Linked DNA regions of Homo sapiens: all the other regions are linked to region 4. Evidence: promoter capture Hi-C in 16 types of primary human blood cells and fetal thymus (Javierre and others, 2016). All regions are on one chromosome and are shown on one strand. The core of a region is centred on a gene start or on the middle of the fragment in contact, and the rest is flanking DNA. Distances in the headings are between cores, read along the strand shown. Region 1 has its middle 2.5 kb from the start of TEX101. Region 2 has its middle 23 kb from the start of LYPD3. Region 3 overlaps LYPD3 (LY6/PLAUR domain containing 3). Region 4 holds the start of CADM4 (cell adhesion molecule 4). Region 5 has its middle 12 kb from the start of ZNF283.

Region 1 (2,700 bases), core at 96-2,595, 230 kb before region 4:
GGCATGAGCCATGGCACCCAGCCTAGAATCTTACTTGAGGTAAAATGAGAATCCACTGGAAGGTTTTGGTTTTTTTGAAACAGAGTCTTGCTCTGTCACCCAGGCTGCAGTGCAGTAGCACAATCTTGACTCACTGCAGCCTCCACCTCCCAGGTTCAAATGATTCTCTCGCTGCAGCATCCAGAGTAGCTGGGATTACAGGGGCGCACCACCACGCCCAGCTAATTTTTTCATTTTTAGTGGAGACAGGGTTTCACCATGTTGGCCAGGCTGGTCTCGAACTCCTGATCTCAGGTGATCCACCACCTCGGCCTCCCAAAGTGCTGGGATTACAGGCCTGAGCCACCGTGCCTGGCCCATTAGAAAGTTTTAAACAGGAGTAATGTGGTGTGGCTTGCAATTAAGAGATCGCTCTGGTGCCAGGTGGGAAATAGCCACATGGGCAAGGGCAGGGCGTACTGCAATAATCCAGTGACCAATGGTGGTGTCACAAGTGCTTATATAAAAAGATGCCTTCACTGTATATTAGCCATTGAGCTTTTTTCTTTTTTACAAACGTTCCATGGATTCATAAACTATTTGCCAACCATTGCTCTAGACTAACCTCCTCATTTTCTTTTTTTTCTTTTTTTTCTTTTTTTTTGAGACCAAGACCAAGTTTTGCTCTTGTTGCCCAGGCTGGAGTGCAATGGTGCAGTCTCAGCTCACTGCAACCTCCGCCTCCCAGGTTCAAGTGATTCTCCTGCCTCAGCCTCCCAAGTAGCTGGGATTACAGGCGCGTGCCACCAGGCCTGGCTAATTTTTGTATTTTTAGCAGAGACAGGGTTTCACCGTGTTGGTGAAGGTCAGGCTGGTCTCAAACTCCTGACCTCAGGTGAACCACCCACCTTGGCCTCCCAAAGTGCTGGGATTATGGGCTTGAGCCACTGCACCCAGCCTAACCTCTTCATTTTCTAGATGAGGACACTGAAGCTTGGAGAGGAACAGAAATTGGCTCAGGCTAAGGAAGATCTGTCAATCTCTCTTGCACCAAAAAGGCAAAGCCACCTTTCTCAAGGGGCTGTGTATTGGGGTGTTCTTGCACTGCTATAAAGAAATACCTGAGACTAGAAGTAATTTATAAGAAAAGAGGTTTGATTGGCTCAAGGTTCTGCAGCTGTACAGGAAGCGTGGTGCCAGCATCTCCTTCTGGGGAGGCCTCAGAGAGCTTTTACTTATGGCAAAAGGATGCAGGCCAGAGAAGGGGAGCGAGAGAGAGTAAGAAGGGGAGGTGCCACACACTTAAACAACCAGATCTGGCAAGGACTCACTCATCATTGCAAGGACAGCACCAAGTCATGAAGGATCTGCCCCCATAACCCAAACACCTTCCACCAGGTCGCATCTCCAACACTGGGAATTACATTTCAACATGAGATTTGGGCGGGGGACAAATATCCAAACTATGTCACGGAGCAAGAGGAGGTCCCTGGAGCTGTTGAAGCAGAAATGGGGTGAAGAATAGAGGTGGAGGGTGCTTAGGCTTCCAAGGTCTCTTCTAGGTGTGAGATGGAGGGATTCTGCGACCAAGTCACCTGGAGAGTGACTCAACAAGGTGACTGCTTTCCCAAGCACGAGCCCTCGGGGGACAGACGGGGGCTGAAAACTGGCACACATTCTTCCTGGATCCTTTGACATGTGATCATTCAAAGATAACAGTTCAAAGATAACAAAGGGATTGAAGCTTTACCAATCCCTTTCTTATTGTGGCATTTTCTCTATTAAAAATAAATACTCATTTATACTATAACTTACAGAATCAGTACCAATTCTGAAAGTATACAAAGCGTTGCCTTACTTTAAGGAAGGAGACCACTACTACTCCTGCTGCCCTCCTCCCCCGACCTTGCCTAGTTCACAAGACAGGAGGAAAGAGAGAAAGCAAAAAGTTGGAAAGAAACAGAAGTAAGATAAATAGCCAGTCAACCTTGGCACCACCACCCAGCCCTAGGAGTTAAAAAAAGTAATAATAATAACAGCAACCCCTGACCTAAACTACTTGTGTTATCTGTAAGTTCCAGACATTATATGAAAAAGCATTGCAAAACTTTCTGTTCTGTTACCTGATGCATGTAGCCCCCAGTCACGTTTCCCACGCTTGCTCGATTTATCACGACCCTTTCATGTGGACCCCTCGAAGTTGTAAGCCTTTAAAAAGGCCAAGAATTGGCCAGGCGTGGTGGCTCATGCCTGTAATCCCAGCACTTTGGGGGGCGGGCGGATCACGAGGTCAGGAGATCGAGACCATCCTGGCTAACACAGTGAAACCCCATCTCTACTAAAAATACAAAAAAATTAGCCGGGTGTGGTGGTGGGTGACTGTAGTCCCAGCTACTCGGGAGGCGGAGGCAGGAGAATGGCATGAAGTCGGGAGGCAGAGCTTGCAGTGAGCCGAGATTGCACCACTGCACTCCAGCCTGGGCAACAGAGGGAGACTCCAAAAAAAAAAAAAAAGGCCAAGAATTTATTTTTCAGGGAGCTCGGCTCTTAAGACGCAAGTCTGCTGAGGCTCCCGGCCAAATAAACCTCTTCCTTCTTTAATCCAGTATCTGAGGAGTTTTGTCTGCAGCTCATCCTGCTACAACTTCATGTCACACCTGGAAAGCTTACATAGGCCAGGGGTGGTGGCTCACGTCTGTAATCCCAGTACTCTGGGAGGCC
Region 2 (2,755 bases), core at 217-2,716, 200 kb before region 4:
TTGGAGTGCAGTGGCGCGATCTTGGCTCACTGCAACCTCCATCTCCTGGGTTCAAGTGATTCTCCTGCCTCAGCCTCCAGAGTAGCTGGGATTACAGGCATGCACCACCATGCCCGGCTAATTTTTTGTATTTTTAGTAGAGACAGGGTTTTGCCATATTGCCCAGGCTGGTCTCGAACTCCTGAACGCAAGTACTCCACCCACCTCAGCCTCCCAAAGTGCTGAGATTACAGGCGTGAGCCACCGTGTCCAGCCATTTTTTTTTTTAAGGCAGGGTCTTGCTCTATCGCCCAGGCTGGAGTATAGTGGCACAATCATGGCTCACTGCAGCCTCAACCTCCTGGGCTCAAGCTATTCTCCTGTCTTAGCCTCCCACGTAGCTGAGACTACAGGCACAGGCCACTCCTAGCTTGGAGTGTGGATTTTATTGTGATTAAATTAGTTGTCAACCTAGATAACAAACAGCGAGAGGCTCTCTAAAAGAAACAAAAATTGGTTGGGCGAGGTGGCTCACGTCTGTAATCCTAGCACTTTGGGAGGCCGAGGCGGGTGGATCACTTGAGGTCAGGAGTTCGAGACGAACCTGACCAACATGGCAAAGCCTCATCTCTACTAAAAATACAAAAATTAGCCAGGCATCATGGCAGGTGCATGTAATCCCAGCTGCTAGGGAGGCCAAGGCAGGAGAATCAGTTGAACCCGGGGGGTGGAGGTTGCAGTGAGCCAAGTTCATGCCACTGCACTCCAGCATGGGCGAAAGAGTGAAACTACATCTCAAAAAAAAAAAAAAAGTTTATTCAAGAACAGAGAATTGCAATGGGAATAGGAGTGTTATACATATTCAAGGAGGTCAAAGAAGACAAAGGTTTTTAAAGAAAAAAAATGAGGAGAATTACATAATGGTTTTGAAATAATCATCTTTGGCTAGAAAAATGAATCACAAAGATGATGCCAGTCTGGGGTTGGACAGGCAGTTGCTGGGCAAACGTCCTTGCAGAAGTATTTTTCTGTGTAAGTTTGCAATGGTCTTTGTGTGAGATTGTGTTTTTTGCAGTTTTTTTGTGATAGTTTTTGTGATCAGTCATACAAGTATGAGAACCCTCTCTCCATGGCTTTCCTTCACTCTGTTGGTCGGAGCTTTTTTTTCTTTTTCTTTTTTTTAACATGAGTGACTCCATTTTGATTCTGATAACCTTCAAAAGTTCATATGTGCCTGGGTCATGGGGACTGCTTAGTAAATGCTAGCTTTCACTTTACTATTGGAATTTTTACCTCCAAAATGCAGCATCTCCCCATTCCAAGGTCCTAAGTAGAATGGAAGAGGAGATGCCAGGGAATCTTGACAAGGGAAACTTTCACGGTTGACTCTACATTTGAATTTCTATAGCAGGATTAAGTCTGTGTATTATTTACGTGATTTAAAAAGGCCGAGTGTGGTGGCTCACGCCTGTAATTCCAGGACTTTGGGAGGCTGAGGCAGGTGGATCACCTGAGGTCAGGAATTTGAGACCAGCCTGGTCAACATATAATGAAACCCCATCTCTACTACGAATATAAAAATTAGCCAGGCATGGTGGCATACACCTGTAATCCCAGCTACTCAGGAGGCTGAGGCAAGAGAATTGTTTGAACCTGGGAGGCAGAGGTTGCAGTGAGCCAAGATGGCACCACTGCACTCCAGCCTGGTGACAGAGCGAGACTCTGTCTCAAAAAAAAAAAAAAAAAATCTAAAAATTAGCTAGGCATGGTGGTGCACACTTGTGGTCCCAGCTACTTGGAAAACTAAGGCAGAAGGATCGCCTAAGCCTAGGAGGTCAAGGCTGCCATGAGCTGCGATCACACCACTGCACCCCAGGCTGGGTGACAGAGCAAGACCCCCTCTCACAAAAAAATTTTTAAAAAGATAATGTTAAATATATGTTAGTAGATAAATGTTCACAAAAATCATTAGTGTTGAAGGAAGTGAGGAAAAGATTAAAGGGTGTATTAGTCCATTCTCACACTGCTATAAAGATACTACCTGCTATAAAGATACTGGCCAGACAAGGTGGCTCATGCCTGTAATCCCTACTCTTTGGGAGGCTGAGGTGGGTAGATCACCCGATGTCAGGAGTTCAAGACCAGCCTGGCTAACATGATGAAAACCCGTCTCTACTAAAAATACAAAAAAAAAAAAAAAGTCAGGCATGGTGGCAGGCACCTGTAATCAGCTACTCAGGAGGCTGAGGCAGGAGAATCACTTGAATCCAGGAGACAGAGGTTGTGAGCCGAGATCGCACTACTGCACTCCAGCCTGGGCAACAAGAGGGAAACTCTGTCTCAAAAAAAAAGATACTACCTGAGACTGGGTAATTTATAAACAAAAGAGGTTTAATTGACCTGCAGTTCCACATTGCTGAGGAAGCCTCAGGAAACTTACACTCATGGCGGAAGGGGAAGGGGAAGCAAGCACCTTCTTCACAAGGTGGCAGGAGAGACAGTGCAGGGGAAACGGCCACTTATAAACCATCAGATCTCATGAGAACTGCATGGGGGAACCACCCCCAAGATCGAATCACCTCCCACCAGGTCCCTCCCTCCACATGTGGGGATTACAATTTGAGATGAGGTTTTGGGGGGACACAGAGCCAAACCATATCACCAGGGTTAAGATTTATAAATTGCTCTGTGAACCCCGAAAATCTGAGACAGGTCTCAGTTAATTCAGAAAGTTAATTAGGAGACCAAGGTTGAGAATGCACGCACATGACACAGC
Region 3 (2,700 bases), core at 105-2,604, 180 kb before region 4:
ATGCTGCTTAATGGTTTCGCCCGGTCTCCCCCTCACCAGTGGGACCACCCACATGCAGGATAGACCCAGGAGATTAAAGTTCAACCGTGACTTCCCCCAGGACTGCGGCTCTAGGTCCCATATCTCTCCCGTTAAAGGCTTTATGATGCCCACCCTAGCTCAGCTAGAGCGGTTATTGCGAGAAACAAGGTGGAAGTGACTCCTTTAAAGCACTATACAAAGTAATTAAATCTTTATTGAGGCATTTATGTGCCAGAAACTGATCACACACAGACATAAGGCACGGTCCCTGCCCTCGAGGAGCTCACAGTCTAGTAAGGAAGACATATGGGGAACCGATTCCCCAAAGATGCGGGGAGTAGGGGAGGCAGTGCTTAGAGTGGGGAGCCATTGTCCCACCCACCCCACGCTCCAAAGTCCAGGCTGGCTAGGAGAAAGTGAGTAGGAAGCTTAGCATCCTCTCTCTCACCTTCCCCGTGACAGCTGACTTCTCTCACTCTGTCCTAACATCACAAGAGGACAAGCGGAGAGACAAGGATGAGAAGGATACAGGAGCTGTCCTCAAAAAGCTAGAACACCCCTGGCAGAATATATACAACGGTATTTTATTTCCCAAAGCCGCAAACCAGCGCAGCAGAAGCTGGGGATACTGGGGAATGTTGGAAAAACAGGGGCTGGGCCAGCCCAGTCCAGTGGTGGGAACAGGAAGTGATGAGAAGAGGGGTACCCAGGGCCAGAGAAGTAGGTGAGAGGGAAATTTCCAGGTGGAGAAGCTCACAGTAGGACACCAGCAGCCACGGCCAACAGAAGGGCTGCCAATCCAGCTGTGGGAGCCACACAGCCTTTATTATGGGGCTGCTGGGGCCCCCCTTTTGCAGGATACTGCCCTGAATTGCTGCGGTCCTGGTGGCCAGCGGCGCCTCCAGTCAACCTGGGCTCCTCATCCCGGGAGGCCTCGTGTTCTACTCCCTGTCTCGGAGTCTGACTGGTTGGCGCTGGCATGGGTTTGGTGGTGGATGTGGGTCTCACTGGGGCCGAGGTAGAAGTGGTGACAGATGTGGTTGAGGCCACAGTCGTGGGCTCTGGAGGGGGCAGCCGGACAAGGGGTGGGATTCGAGGGGAGAAGTAGGTCTTGTTGCGGAGGTCAGAGTTACAGCGGGACCCCTGGCAACAGGAGCCACTGAGCGTGAACCCTGGGCCTGTTACTCCATCCCGAGTGCAGAATTCATCCTGGACACAGCCCCGGACAGGCAAGGACACAGTCACATTAGCTGCAGGAAGGAGACACAGATAGGTCAGTGGCTGGAGGGAGAGAGGTTGACATGGCCAGAACAAAACTTAGAGGCATCAGACAAGAACAGAGAACCTGACCGGGCGTGGTGGCTCACGCCTGTAATCCCAGCACTTTGGGAAGCCGAGGCAGGTGGATCACTGGGCAACAGAGTGAGACTCTGTCTTGCAAAAAAAAAAAAGAACAGAGAACCCCCAAAATGAGACAGAAAGTCTCTGCATCCATTAATCCCAAAATCTCAACTCAGGTCCTACTATGAGAAACAGACAGACTCACTGTCTTTGGCACATGGTGGATTAACATTTTCCATTGTGCTTTGAATGGAAATGTGTGTAGGCTGAACCAAAAGTAGGGTTTAAAACAAAGGCTTAGACTGAGATACAAGACCTCTCACAAGACCACAGTGCAGAACAAACTTCCTCTACAACCCTCTCACCATTATCCCCTTAGCCTTCACCCTGGCTTTTACCTCCCCATCAGAATTTACTCTTAGAGTCAGAGTTACATCTCCACACCAGGCTCAGTGGTTCACGGCTGTAATCCCAGCACTCTGGGAGACCTAGGCAGGGGGATCTCTTAGCCCAAGAGTTCAATACCAGCCTGGGTAACATGGCAAGACCCCACTGTTACCAAAAATAAAAGGAACCAGTCGTGGCGGTGCACCCTGTAGTCCCAGCTACTTGGGAGGCTGAGGCGGGAGGACTGCTTGAGCCCAAGAGGTAGAGGCTGCAGTGAGCTATGATTGCGCCACTACACTCCAGGCTAGGCGATAGAGCAAGATGCTGTCTTTAAAAAAAAATAGTAATAATAAAATAAAAAAGAACTACATCTTCCATAGCATAACTGGCAGGGGATGGGATTTGAAGAACTTCATTTTCCATGGTTACATTTCTCAATAGTCTGGGACAGGCGGGGGACCCCTTGAGTTTTAAGGGCTAAGAACTAGAGATTCCCCGCAGTGCCTGGGCAGAAGCTTAGAGGCTTAAATACCTCTTAAGTACCTGGCAGCCCTCTATGGAAATGCATTTCCCTCCAAAACACTCTGGGACAAAGCATCACTATCCCCACACTATTAATATGTTGGGGGAAGGGACTGCATTTTCCATGATGCCCTACGATACAAGCACCTAGGCCCCACGATTCCCAGAATGCGTCGCAGGTTAAGGAAACGCTTTGGGTAAAGGGCTCCCTACCGCCCAGGGTGCTTCAGAAGGGCTACCACAACTCCCGTAGGTCCCGTGCTCCGGGGCTCCCTCACCTGCCGTCAAGGTGACGTTGCCGTCGAAGCAGCCCTTGTAGACATGATCGCTGGCGTTGTAGCAGCTCACGACCGGCGGCGATGTACCCTGGCACGCCTCCCGGCTCAGGCCCACACAGCTGTAGCACTCCACGCCGTTGGGCGGGTATGC
Region 4 (2,700 bases), core at 44-2,543:
CACAGTGTGAGAGTGTGTGTGGGTGACATTTCCTGACCTTGTCCCCATTCTCAGGGTCACCCAACCTCGGGGGTCTCCAGCTTCTCACAGTGTGTGATGAGGGTATGTGGATGGCTCCCTGGATGTCCTGGACAGGGGCTTCTCTGTGAGTCAAGCCTGGGTGTGTGAATGGGTGAGCAGGGTTTGGAGAGGCATTCGCTGAATCCACGTGTGTGCCTACACGCCAAGGTCCCCCATTCTCACTTCCCCACACACATGCACACAGATGTTCCCCTCCAGGGCTCTTTAGAATGCCCTGCCTGACTGAATTCCTCTTCAGGGGCACAGAGGGATAGAGAGAGGGAGGAAGGTAGGATGGGAATGGGAGATCCCGGGATGGAGGCTGTAAGCGTAGAGAGAGGAGGCACAGCAGAAAGACAGGGATGGAGATAGTGGGACAGAGAAGGGGGAAAGAGACAGGTGACAGAAAGGGTTAGAGAAACGAGTGACAGAAAGACAGGGGACAGAGACAAGGGGATGGGGCAGATAGGGGACAGAGAAAAAGGGACAGAAAAACAAGGGTGACAGCGAGACAGAGACAGGGACCAAGAATAGGGGCAGAGAGGGAGGGCAGAAATCCGGGGGAAAGAGAATAGACAGGATGATGGAGGGGACAGAGTGACCCAGGAAAAGGGGACAGAGACCAGGGGACAGAGGTAGGGGACAAAGACAGAATAGATGAGGAACACCGAGGCAAGAAGAGAGGGAGACAGACAGAAGGAGGGACAGGACTTCGAGACTGAGGGATAGAGGACAAGGGTAGGGGGACGAGGAGCCAGACGGGGGGGTTCAGAGACGGGCGGACAGAGGGACGCAGAGACTGGACAGAAGGACAGCGGGACCGGCCTGGGGAGGGCGGACTTGTGTGTGTAGGGGGGTCTCGGGCCCTTTGTCCCCGCCGGGATCCAGCCTGCGCGGGTGGGGGGGCTGCGGCACGGCGGCCGGGCCCCGCGCCCCCTCCCCCGCTCGTCGCTCCCGGCTCCCGGCCCGCGCTGCGCTTTGTCCCGGGGAGGGGGCCCGGCCCGGCCCCGCGCGCATTGTTCGGCCTCTGCGGCCCCGAGGCTGCCGGGCTGTCACCACAGCGCGCCCCCCGCCCCAGCCCGGCCGGCCGACCCCGGCCCCCGACCCTACCTGGCCCCGCCGCGGCCGCCCACAGCAGCAGCAGCGGCCACTGGAAGCGCCGGGCCCGGCCCATGGTGCCGCCGCCGCCGCCGCCGCCGCTCGCTCCCGGCCCGGCACCTGCACCGCCCGCGCCGCCCGCCCCGCCCCCCGCGCCCCGCCCCCTGCCCGCCCGGGGGCGGGGCGCCGAGGCCGGGGCGGGGCCGGGGAGGGGAGGGGGAGACGGAGGAGAGGCCCGGAGACAATCGGGGGGACGGCACGGTGGGGGAACGGTGCGGGGTGCGAAAGCTGGAGAGGAGAGGGGTGAGGAGGGCGGGAAGGGGTGCGCGGGAGGGCGACAGCGGCGTGGGAGCAGGTGGGGGATCTCGGTGAGCGCGGGAAATGGAGGGTGTTGGGTGAGGGTGCTGCGTGCGGGCCCAGGTGCTGCGCGCGAGGGTGCGGAGTTGCTGGCATGCAGGGTGCTTGCGCTGCGCGGAGGGGAGGGTGGCAGGGTGTTGCTGGAGGCTGTGCGAGGGTGGGGGCGCGGGCGTCGTGGGGTGCGGTGTGTGCGAAGGGAGAGCGTGGCCAGCGTGACGGGGGAGCGTAAGGGAGGGAGTGCGACGTGGGAAAGGTGAGTGTGAGAGGCGTGCTGCGGGCAGGTGGGTGTCTGGAGTCTAGCGAGAGGCTGTGAGCTGAGCCACCGGGACAGGGGAGGCTGCAGCTGGAGGTCCGGAGGGTCCGGAGGTCGAGGCAGGTCAAGGATCTCCCAGGGCAGGGCGAGGCTGGGGCTCAGGAGTGGGGTGGGGTCAGTTCCCTCCCTCCCTCTCTCCTGTCCTGACCTGAAAACCCCGTGTTTCCGCGTCATTCTCCGGGAGGGGCCCCCTGAAAGTGAACTAACTGGAAGGAAGCCTGAATCCTGGGTCCCAGGAGGGAGAGGCTCCTGTGAACACCTTCCAAGCCCTGGCGTCCCCTCTCCTCCCTGCTGTCTCCCTGCCCCAGCCTCTCTCCCTCTCTCTGCATGTATTTGCCTCTGCCCTTCCTCTCTCCCCATCTTTGAGGGTGACTCACCCCTCCAGACTTAGGTCCCTTCTCCCTCCTGGGAGTGGGTTTCCCTGAGCCCACTTCTGTGACACCCTGTAGACCTGATGCGGGATCATTACCTATGGGACCCAGAAAGAGTGAGAAACCATGGAAAGAAGGCCTCGACCTCTCTCATGCCCATTTGTCAGGCAAACTGAGGTCCAGAAGTGCCAATTATGAACATCTTTCCTTCCCCCCTCCCCCCTCCCCGCCCAGACGGAGTCTCGCTCTGTTGCCCAGGCTGGAGTGCAGTGGCACGATCTCGACTCACTGCAACCTCTGCCTCCCAGGTTCCAGTGATTCTCCTGCCTCAGCCTCCCGAGTAGCTGAGATTACAGGCGCCCGCCACCATGCCTAGCTAATTTTTATATTTTTAGTAGAGACGGAGTTTTGCCATGCTGGCCAGGCTGGTCTTGAACTCCTTACCTCAGGTGATCCATCTGTCTGGCCTCCCAAAGTGCTGGATTACAGGCGTGAGCCACC
Region 5 (2,700 bases), core at 154-2,653, 180 kb after region 4:
TACTGGGGAGGCTGAAATGAAAAAATCACTTGAACCCAAGAGATTGAGGCTGCAGTGTGCTATGATCCTGCCACTGCACTCCAGCCTGGGTAACAGAGAAAGACCTGTCTCTAAAACAAACAAACAAACAAATGAAGTGAAGATCTCCAATCACAGCTCTGTACACCAGGATTTACCTTCACCACTGCCTGTAGGACCCACCTCTGAGTAGTGGTCCCGTAATATGATAATTTAGGTTCAGCTTCCAAAATACATCAGTCACACTGATCCATCTGTGAGCCAGACCTTTTCTTCCTTAATATTCTACAGGAAAATCTTCATATGATGTCATGAATGTGAATTAAAGGAACAACATAGCTGCAACCAAGGTCAGTGACATGAGAGTCTGAGCTGTCTGTGTGTGTAACTCTTTTGTGCCATCTAGATCTCTTACAATGAATTAATACTGTGCCCAAATCGCACTATGACTTAGTGGGTTAGATACCCAACTCATGACAGGTAGTTTTAGTCATATAGATACTTGATGTCCCATGGTCAAAATCACAGACTCTATTAGTACTCAGCAGCTGGTTTTCAAATTGAAAGCACTTATATGCTGCATAATAAATGGACTTACTTCAGAACCTTACGGGCTGTAATTTTGCTTTTGTATCTTGCCAGAGACTCCACATAACAGCTTCAACCATTATGGATAGAGGTGACACCATCAAAGTTGCTGATTCATGTGGCTCAGGGACAGGGAGATTGCATCGCAGGCTTTACCTGCTGTAGAGCTCTCACCTGCTTTGAAACTCAGCAGCCTTCAAGTTTATCTGAAAAATGAGTCAGAACAAAATTCCAGGCCAGTCATGATGGGTCACGCCTGTAATCTCAGCACTTTGGGAGGCCGAAAGTGGGGGGATTGTTTGAGGCCAGGAGTTTGAGGCCAGCCTGGGCAATATAGTGAGAACCTATTTCTAAAAAAAAAAAGAAAGAAAGAAAAAGGAGTTTGAGACCAGCATGGGCAACACACGGAGACCCCGTCTCCACAAAAAATTTAAAAACTAGCTGTGCACGGTGGCATGTGCCTGTAGTCCCAGTTACTCGGGAGGCTGAGGTGGGAGGATCTACTTGAGCCAGGGAGGTCAAGGCTGCAGTGAGCTGTGATCATGCCACTGCACTCCAGCCTGGGCAATAGAGCAAGACTCTGTCTAAAACAAAAACAAAACCAAAAACCAGCTATAAAAGACACCTAGAACTATTAAAAAAAGAGAAAAAAAGAACACTATTCTGAAGTGTGATTTATATATGTATCATATAAATCATATATGTTATATATAAACACACATCTATATATACCCATCTATTATTTTTATTTTATTTTATTTTATTTTTGAGACGGAGTTTCACTTTGTCACCCTGGCTGGAGTGCAGTGGCGCGATCTCAGCTCACTGCAACCTCTGCTTCCCGACTTCAAGCGATTCCCCTGCCTCAGCCTCCTGAGTAGCTGGGACTACAGGTGTGCACCACCATGCCTAATTTTTGTATTTTTAGTAGAGATGGAGTTTCACCATGTTGGCCAGGCTGGTCTCGAACTCCTAACCTCAAGCGATTCACCCGCCTTGGCCTCCCAAACTGCTGGGATTCCAGGTGTGAGCCACCACGCCCCACTCTATCTATCTATCTATCTATCTATCTATCTATCTATCTATCTATCTACCTATCATGTATCTATCACTTTCAAATGTCAAAGAGCCCTACCAAATTATGTGCCTGTTTATCAGTTTAGGAAGTGTGAGTTGTAATAACTTATTCTTTACCTTAAGGGAGATACTATGGCATGTCCCAGATGATTGGACTTCTAAAATCTTCACTGATGTGGTAAGTTAGTGAACATTCATGAGGTTTATCTCCCTCTTTCTGTCACTCATTTGCATTACTATGGCTTCTACAGTGATTGCCACTTCCTGATCACCAGGTCAAATTAGCATGATTTTATTGGTGGAATGAACCAGTGCTATGTTCTTCAGAATGTAAAGATGATCAAGGCCTCTGTGGACTACAATATGACGGAGATTAGGAGGGTTATCAGGAACCTGGGGCAAGACAGTGCTGCAGTCCTTACCATGCACACATGAATGGCTTTTAATTCTCCTAAATGTCAGAGATCAAGTAAAATACATTTGTCAGATCATTAAGCACATACTAAGGACCAAAAACTAGGTTGGTCAACTCCAGTAAAGATGTCACATCTGACATAGCAGCTGAAATTGGAGCTGCTATTTGTTTACATTTAAAGTAGTCACTATGAATTAGCTTTGGCCACATAATAAGTGATACGGTTTGGCTGTGTCCCCACCCAAATCTCATCTTGAATTGTAGCTCCCATAATTCCCACATGTTGTGGGAGGAACCCGGTGAGAGATAACTGAATCATGGGGGTGGTTTCCCCCATACCGTTCTCATGATAGTGAATAAGTATTATCAGAGCTGATGGTTTTATAAGGGGAAACCCTTTTTGCTTGGCTCTCATTCTCTTTGCTGGCTGCCATGTAAGATGTCTCTTTGTTCTCTTTTGCTCTTCTGCTATGATTGTGAGGCCTCCCCAGGCATGTGTAACTATGAGTCCATTAAACCTGTTTTTCTTTATCAGTTACCCAGTCTTGGGTATGTCTTTATCAGCAGCATGAAAACAGACGAAAACAATCAGTAACCCCAAA

Evidence for each region. Contacts are between HindIII fragments. The CHiCAGO score rates a contact against its expected background, and 5 or more counts as called.
Region 1: a fragment that was not itself captured here is called in contact with the fragment with the promoter of CADM4 in region 4 in 1 of 17 cell types (total CD8 T cells); the score reaches 5.0 in total CD8 T cells.
Region 2: a fragment that was not itself captured here is called in contact with the fragment with the promoter of CADM4 in region 4 in 11 of 17 cell types (total B cells, activated CD4 T cells, non-activated CD4 T cells and 8 more); the score reaches 9.6 in total B cells.
Region 3: a contact is called between a fragment that was not itself captured here and the fragment with the promoter of CADM4 in region 4, in 3 of 17 cell types (fetal thymus, activated CD4 T cells and naive B cells). The highest score is 7.3, in fetal thymus.
Region 5: a contact is called between a fragment that was not itself captured here and the fragment with the promoter of CADM4 in region 4, in 1 of 17 cell types (M1 macrophages). The highest score is 5.2, in M1 macrophages.

What each region holds. Positions count from the first base shown.
Region 1 is chr19:43,411,019-43,413,718 of GRCh38, forward strand. It overlaps a transcript of TEX101 not described here. Among named protein-coding and RNA genes, the nearest start is that of TEX101, 2.5 kb to the right of the region's middle. RefSeq lists a silencer at 2,073-2,259. The HindIII fragment of the contact is 751 bases long and covers 971-1,721 here.
Region 2 is chr19:43,440,970-43,443,724 of GRCh38, forward strand. No RefSeq gene overlaps it. Among named protein-coding and RNA genes, the nearest start is that of LYPD3, 23 kb to the right of the region's middle. The HindIII fragment of the contact is 6,258 bases long and covers 1-2,755 here.
Region 3 is chr19:43,460,577-43,463,276 of GRCh38, forward strand. LYPD3 (LY6/PLAUR domain containing 3) reads right to left here. Exons shown (of 5, transcript NM_014400.3): 4 at 2,550-2,700; 5 at 211-1,271. The coding sequence ends at 775. Among named protein-coding and RNA genes, the nearest start is that of LYPD3, 3.7 kb to the right of the region's middle. RefSeq lists enhancers at 2,561-2,620, 2,651-2,700. The HindIII fragment of the contact is 1,815 bases long and covers 448-2,262 here.
Region 4 is chr19:43,638,557-43,641,256 of GRCh38, forward strand. CADM4 (cell adhesion molecule 4) reads right to left here and starts at 1,294. Exons shown (of 9, transcript NM_145296.2): 1 at 1,171-1,294. The coding sequence starts at 1,234. RefSeq lists a silencer at 1,178-1,317. The HindIII fragment of the contact is 9,580 bases long and covers 1-2,700 here.
Region 5 is chr19:43,814,382-43,817,081 of GRCh38, forward strand. It overlaps a transcript of LYPD5 not described here. Among named protein-coding and RNA genes, the nearest start is that of ZNF283, 12 kb to the right of the region's middle. The HindIII fragment of the contact is 4,808 bases long and covers 1-2,700 here.